2 separate regions of the Homo sapiens genome follow, and region 1 is linked to region 2. The links are contacts of gene promoters, found by promoter capture Hi-C in blood cells and fetal thymus (Javierre and others, 2016). All regions are on one chromosome and are shown on one strand. Each heading gives the region's core, a stretch centred on a gene start or on the middle of the fragment in contact. The rest is flanking DNA. Distances are from core to core; before and after follow the strand shown. Region 1 has its middle 6.2 kb from the start of URI1. Region 2 holds the start of DPY19L3 (dpy-19 like C-mannosyltransferase 3).

Evidence for each region. The method cuts DNA at HindIII sites, captures the fragments that hold promoters and counts their contacts. A CHiCAGO score of 5 or more calls a contact.
Region 1: a contact is called between a fragment that was not itself captured here and the fragment with the promoter of DPY19L3 in region 2, in 1 of 17 cell types (total B cells). The highest score is 5.3, in total B cells.

What each region holds. Positions count from the first base shown.
Region 1 is chr19:29,934,371-29,937,803 of GRCh38, reverse strand. It overlaps a transcript of URI1 not described here. Among named protein-coding and RNA genes, the nearest start is that of URI1, 6.2 kb to the left of the region's middle. The HindIII fragment of the contact is 153 bases long and covers 1,229-1,381 here.
Region 2 is chr19:32,403,691-32,407,663 of GRCh38, reverse strand. DPY19L3 (dpy-19 like C-mannosyltransferase 3) reads right to left here and starts at 1,894. Exons shown (of 19, transcript NM_001172774.2): 1 at 1,755-1,894. It overlaps DPY19L3-DT (DPY19L3 divergent transcript), which reads left to right and starts at 2,125. Exons shown (of 3, transcript NR_046201.1): 1 at 2,125-2,673. RefSeq lists silencers at 1,513-2,262, 2,293-2,342. The HindIII fragment of the contact is 5,769 bases long and covers 1-3,773 here.

The DNA.
Region 1 (3,433 bases), core at 56-2,555, 2.5 Mb after region 2:
AAATTGGGGCATTTTTGAGTCCTGAGGGATTAGCACAGACTCCTGTATTGGTTTCAGCCCTCTTGTGCTTCCTATGGCAGCATCCATCAGGAGATTTGAAAGTAAAGAACACCTTTTTGTAGCCAGAAATTTACAGATATCATTTCCAGGTCACTGGTTGCCTGTAAAGATTATGAAACAAAAACATCAGTAACCACATGCAATAAGGACTACACACTTTGCAAACATAGTTTGGAAAAGTCTCTAAACAAACAGATGGCTGCAACCCTCAACAAGCAAAAATCAGCAATCCCTGAAGAGGAGGAGAATCTGATTTTCAGAGTTACTACAATAATACCCAAAATGCCAAGTGCTCAACAAAATATTACAAAGCATACAAAGAAAAAGGAAAGTATAGCCTATTCACAGGGGGAAAAAAAGAATTCAATAGAAGCCATCCCCAAGGAAGCCTTTACATTGGAAACATTAGTCAAAGACATTAAATCAACTGTCTTACACCCAATGAGCTAAAGGAAACCAAAATAATATATGAACAAATAGGGAAGGCCAATGAAGAGATAGTTTAATCTTATAAAAAGGAACAAAATAGAAATCCTGGAGCCGAAAAGTACAATAGCTTGAACTTAGAAATTCACTAGAGAGATCAAAAAGCTGATCTGAAGAATCAGGAAGAAGAAAGAACCAGTGAACTTGAAGATAAGGCAATTGAAATTGTCCAGTTGTAAAGAGAGAAAAATAAATAACGAAAAATAGGCTGGCCATGGTGGCTCATGCCTGTAATCCCAGCACTTTGGGAGGCCGAGGAGGGTGGATCACTTGAATTCAGGAGTTTGAGATCAGCCTGGCCAACATGGTGAAACCCCATCTCTACTAAAATACAAAAATTAGCCAGGCATTGTGACGCGCACCTGTAACCCTAGCTGCTGGGGAGGCTGAGGCCAGAGAATCACTTGAATCAAGAAGGAGGAGGTTGCAGTGAGCCAAGATCATGCCACTGCACTCCAGCCTGGGCAATAGAGTGAGACTCTATCTCAAAAAAAAGAAAAGGAAAAATGAACAGAGCCTGATAGATCCATGTGATGCCATCAAGCATATATCAACATATGCATAGTAGAAGTTCCTGAAGGAGAAGAGGAACAGGAAGGGACAGAAAAAGAAATTTGAAGAAATAATGGCTGAAAACTTCCCAAATTTGATGAAGGATATGAACATACACGTCCAAGAAGCTTAACAAATTACAAGCGCGAGAAACTCAGAGATTCATACTGAAACTCACAGCCAGATTGTCAAAAATCAGAAACAAAAAGAGAATCTTGAAAGCAGCAAGAGAGGAACAACTTGTAAGGTACAAGGAGTCCTCAGTAACATTAATAGCTAAGCTTTCATCAGAAACCATAGAGGGGCTGGGTGCAGTGGCTCAGGCCTGTAATTCCAGCACTTTGGGAGGCCGAGGTGGGCAGATCGCCTGAGGTCAGGAGTTCGAGACCAGCCTGACCAATATGGCGAAACCCCATTCTACTAAAAATACAAAAATTAGCCAGATGCGGTGGTGGGCACCTGTAATCCTATCTACTTGGGAGGCTGAGGCTGGAGAATTGCTTGAACCTGGGAAGTGGAGGTTTCAGTGAGCCAAGATTGCACCACTGCACTCCAGCCTGGGCACAAGAGCAAAACTCTAAAAAAGCAAAACTCCATCTCAAAAAAAAATTTTTTTTAAGTGCCGGGCACAGTGGCTCACGCCTATAATCCCAGCACTTTGGGAGGCCAAGGCAGGTGGATCATGAGGTCAGGCATTCTAGACCAGCCTGGTCAACATAGTGAAACCCTGTCTCTACTAAAAATACAAAAAACTAGCCAGGCGTGGTGGCGGGTGCCTGTAGTCCCAGCTACTTGGGAGACTGAGGCAGGAGAATTGCTTGAACCTGGAAGGCAGAGGTTGCAGTGAGCCAAGACGGCACCATTTCACTCCAGCCTGGATGACAGTGTGAGACTCCATCTCAAAAAAAAAGAAAAGAGAAAAGAAAAGAAAAGAAAAGAAAAGGAACCAGAGGCCCAGAGGCAGTGGAATAACACAGTTAAAGTCCTGGGGAAAAAAAAAAAAAAGACTGTCAACCAAGAATTTCCTACCAGACAAACTATCCTTCAGGAATAAAGGAGAAATTAAGACATTTTCAGATAAATAAACGCAGAGAAAGCTCATTGCTAGTAGCCCTGCTCTACAAGAGCTGCTAAAATGAATCCATCAGGCTGAAATGAAAGGAAACTTGATAGTAATTCAAAGCCATGATGAGAAAAAAAAAGAACACTGATAAAAATAGTAACTACATACATCAGTAAATATAAAAGCCAGTATTATTGTAGGTTTTGTTCATAATACTTTGTTTTTCACCTATCATTTAAAGGGCAAATGCATGAAACAATAATTATAAATCTATGTTAATGGGCACAGAATGTATAAAGATATGATCTGGGACAATAATAATATAAAGAGGGAGGGAAAGAGATGTATAGGAGCAAAGTATTTGTATACTCTTAAAACTAAGTTAGTATTATTCAAATTAGGGTGTTATAAATTTAAGATGCTAATTGTGATCCCCAAGGCAACCGCTAAGAAAATAACTAAAAAATATACAGACAGGGAAAGAAAAAAGGAATCAAAATGATACACTAAAATCTATTAAATACCAAAAAAATGTAGTAGTGGAGGAATTGAGGAACAAAATTTAAAAAATGTACAGAAAAGCAAATAGCTATTAAATAAATGGCAGAATTAAATCCTTTATTGGTAATTACTTTAAATGTAAATGGACTAAACTGTCTAATTAAAGGGCAGAGATTGATAGAATGGATTTCTAAAAATTATTAATTTATATGCTGTCTGCAAGAGACTTACTTTGGATCAAAAGATTCGAAAGGATGGAAAGTAAGAAAATAATATGGGCATGTTGGCTTATGCCTGTAATCCCAGCACTTATGCTACCAATCCCTGGGAAGCCAAAGCAGGTGGATCACTTGAGCCCAGGATTCAAGACTATCCTGAGCAACATAGTGAGACCTGGTCTCTAAAAATAAATAAATAAATAAATAAAATTAAAAAAAAATAAGCCAGGTTTGGTGGCACATGCCTGTAGTCACAGCGACTTGGGAGGCTAAGGCAGGAGGATTGCTTGAGCCCAAGAGGTCGAAGCTGCAGTGAGCTATGAGCTCACCACTGCACTACAGCCTGGGCTACAGAGCAAGACCTCATGTCATAACAGAGAAGAAGAGATCTGAACAGTAGCATGTGTGTACACATAAGAAAAACCACGTGGGATTGTAGTGAGAAGGCAGCATCTGCAAGCCAAGGGGTGAGGCCTGAGAAAATATCAACCCTGCTGACACCTTGATCTTGGACTTCCAGCCTCCAGAATTGTGAGAAAATAAATTTCTATTG
Region 2 (3,973 bases), core at 645-3,144:
AACACAAACGAGCCACTGCTTTTCTTCCAGAACATCTTGGGACATTCCAGTTCCGGCTGATCTTCTCCCTCCCTGAGCCATAGCAGTTACCACGCAATGCGTCACGTAACTACACAGTTGTATATTATTTTCTACTTCCATAGGCGGTAGTAGGTCTTCAGTACCTCCCACAGAAGTGGCCACGTGGGAGATACTCCATAGTAAATGTGTTGACAACCGGATTTTGAAGAATTAAAATATTGTTTTGTCTCAGGTACCTGAATTTTAACACCAGTGTTCTATAAAACAATTCACACTGGCAGCTTCAGGAATACGCCTCAGTGGTGATGACTGCGGGGGTGTGCCAATCAGGGCAGCTGCTATCCCAGGGAGCGTCGGTGGGAGTAATGGGTGGGGGGGAGCAGGAGCCTGGTTTGGCAGCAGCAAGTGGGAGGCGGGGGAGTGGTGGCAGTGAGTAAGCGGGTTCCAGTCCTCCAGAACATCTTGCTTCACTCCTCTGAATAATGAACAGCCTCTTACTAATTATTTCTTAAATGTGACTAGTAGCCTGACATGATTGTTTCCACAGTTTATTAATTCCTAAGGGTAACTTGCTCTACAGAACAAACCAACTAACATTATACAATTCATGTATTCATTCATACCAAAAAAAAAAAAAAAAGCAGGAAGCCAGATTTAAGTACTGTGCTTTCAAGCACTGGAAATGGAGAATCTGGAACAGAGAGGGAGAAGAGGAGTGTTTAACAAAGTCCTACAGCCACAGATGGGCTTATCCCCCATGTGACCTCATCCTAGAGTCCTCCCTAAGTGTGAGAGGACTTTTTTAAACAATTCATATATTCTAATATGTTAAGGCAGAAAACCAACACATATTTAAGTACCAATTATGTGTCAGGCACTGCAACAGTCCCATGAACTAAGAAAAAAAGTTCCTCCATCAGATCAAAAGGAATGCCATTGTAAACAACTGAAAAGGGACCAGAAGCGATTCTTTATTAATAAGGACGACTAGCGCTAGCCGGGCGAGGCGGCTCATGTAATCCCAGCGCTTTGGGAGGTTGAGGCAGGAGGATGACTTCAGACCATGAGTTTGAGACCAGCCTGGGGAACAGAGCGAGACCCTATCTATACAATAAAATAGCCAGGCTCGGTGGTGCATGCCTGTGGTCCCAGCTACTCCAGAGGCTGAGGTGGGAGAATCGCTTGAGCCCAAGAGTTCGAGGTTGCAGTGAGCCGTGATAACGCCACTGCACTCCAGCCTGGGCGAGACAGCGAGACCCCTGTCTCTAAAAAATAAAAATAAAAAAGCCTAGCGCTCTAGTGAGCATCCCCTGGACGAGGCAGGCACCGGGTCCGCTTACCTACGCGCCACGCCCCTGCACACCTGGCGTCCCCATCAGGTAGGTCTCCAAGGACAGGGGCAGCCGGGAAGTTCAGGCACGCGCCCCAGCTCTCCCAAGACCGCGAGCGGCCGCCGGGGTCGCAGCCCAGGCCCTGCCTCGCCGCACGGCCGACGAGCAGAAGCCGCTCCGCAAACTTGGTCCTTCCGGAGCCCAGCCCGGCCCGCGTCCCGGCAGACACTCCCGCGCTCCGCCCCTCCCGACGCCCCGACGCCGCGGCCGCGCCCCCCGACTGCGCCACGCGGCGGGGAGGGGCGGCCCCAGGGGCTCGGGGCTGTAGCCGAGGGTTCCGCCGGCGCCCGCCCGCCCTCTCGGTAGACCCTCGCCCGCGCGTCCCGGCGCGCCGCCACAGACCTGCGGCCTCAGCCGTCCTCACGCGCGGCTCCGGGAGGGGAAGGAGGCCGACGGGGCTAGGCGGGAACGGGGCCGCGCCACGGGCCGCAGCGCGCCGCGGGTACAAGGAGGGCAGAACCGCCGCGGAGCTTTGTGGAAATGAGGGGCTGGGGGGCGTCAACAGCCCCGGGGAGGGGGCGCGCCGGAGAGGCCGGGCGGCTGCCCCCGCGCCCATAGGCCCCGGGAGCTGTTCGTCAACACTAGGCCCCGCCTCCTCCCGCGGTTCCCCGCCTCGTCTCGTGCTGCGCTGGCCGGAAGGAAGCGGCACACTTCCGCTTGCCTGGTCCGCATTGAGTCCGGTCTGTTCCGGAGACTCTGAGCGCGGCCGCGGAGCTGCAGTGGCGGGGAGTGGGGTGCGGATCTTGTGTTTGCGCACGCAGTCGCCGGCCACCTCAGGCCGGAGCTAGAGATACGGCTCGGGATAGGAGGGCCCGGCGGCTCTGAGGCAGGTTCGCCTCGAGCCGCACGGCCCGGAGCAGCGGCTCCGCGGTGGTCCCCGGGGCTTGAGAGGGGTGCGGGCCTGGGAGCCCCTGAGGGCCTGATTTACGGAACTCCCCCTCCTTCCTCCTTTCTGCCGTTCCCTGCTCTGTGGCGGATGCGCAGGGATCAGTAGGGACGGCAGCAGTAGGGCCACTCGGGCCTGCCCCGCTTCCCGCATTGCCCGGTTTGGCGCGCCGCCTCCGGGCCTTGGCAAAGCCCCAGCGCCCGATTGTCACTGACCAGTGCTTGGAAGTCCTTTACCGACTGCCCGTCAGCGTCCCGCGGAGAGGATTTTGCGTCTCCAAAGACGCCCCTCTTCCGAAAACAGGCTCCTCTGTGTTCTCAGTCGGGTATATTTTTCTGTCTCCAAACTAGATTGGCAGCCGTTTTTTGAGAGCAGGTACTGACTGTGCTTTATTTCTAGATACTTTTCTTAGTCACACCACGGAAAACACTAGGTGGAACCTTTTTTAAAATTATTTTTTACAGGTGAGGCTCTCAGTCTGTCGCCCAGGCTGGAGTGCAGTGGTGCTATCACGGCTCACTGCAACCTCGGCCTCCTGGGCGCAAGCGATCCTCCCGCCTCAGCCTCCGGAGTAGCTGGGACCACAGGCTCGCACTACTATGCCCAGCTAATTTTTAAATTTTTCGTAGAGATGGGGGTCTTGCTTTGTCGTCCAGGCTGGAGTGCAGTGGTGTGATCGTAGCTCACTGCAACCTTAGTCCCCTGTGCCCAAGTGACCCTGCTTCCTCAGCCTCCTGAGTAGCTGAGATTCATTTTAATTTTTATAGTGATGGGGTCTCGTTGTGTTGACCAGTCTGGTCTAAAACTCCTGAGTTCAAGCAGGCCTCCTGCCTCAGCTTCTCAAAATGTTGGGATTACAGGCTTTAGCCACTGCAGCGGGCCCATCAAACGTTGTATTTGTCAGTACATAATTTACATGTTAATTGATTTTTGTTAAAGGGATGGCCATCTGGGACCTCCACCCGTGAAAAGGCGGCTCATTGGTCTGACTCCAACACTAAATTACGCCATCCAGGAAGCCTTTCCTAGTCACCTCTGTTGGAGATCGTCCTCCTTTGTGTGTCGGTTGTTAGTAAAGAGCACACGTTCTGTGGAAAGATGTTGAGGTATCTGCTGGATGGCTTTGATAGAAACAAATGTCAGCTGTTTTTTCAGATGGCATTTGTCTTGTTTCAGCCTGGTTGTTGGTAGCTTTTCTGTCGCCTGGCTTGAGGGCAAGGACTGTATGTTTATTTTTCACGTTAAGATGCCTTTATGTGCATGTGTCTGTTTCATGAATACATAGGTGAATTGAGTTCCCCTTAAATAGGATTTCCCTCTTATTTTATAGGTTTTTTTTTTTCTCTCAAGTTGTTTCACTCTGGGGGAAATGTGACCATTGTGAAATATCATCGCTTAGTTAAAAAGAAAGTAGAATTCAGCAGTAGCTGCTTTTTTTAATACTATGAAAAGACATTCCTAAGCAAGATGAAGCTTTGAGACTTTTCCTAAGTAGGACCTACTGCTGAGAGTAAGTCTTGGGGAGAATAAGCCAATTAAGAATGAGTCTTTGGTTCTGATAAAGTAACCATGGAGGTGATGGATAATGAGTGTAGGTCCTTGCTCACACTTCTGGCCATATGAGCCCGGAGCCAGGGAGGTACTATAAAAGGAATGGGCTCCTGTAATGGACTGT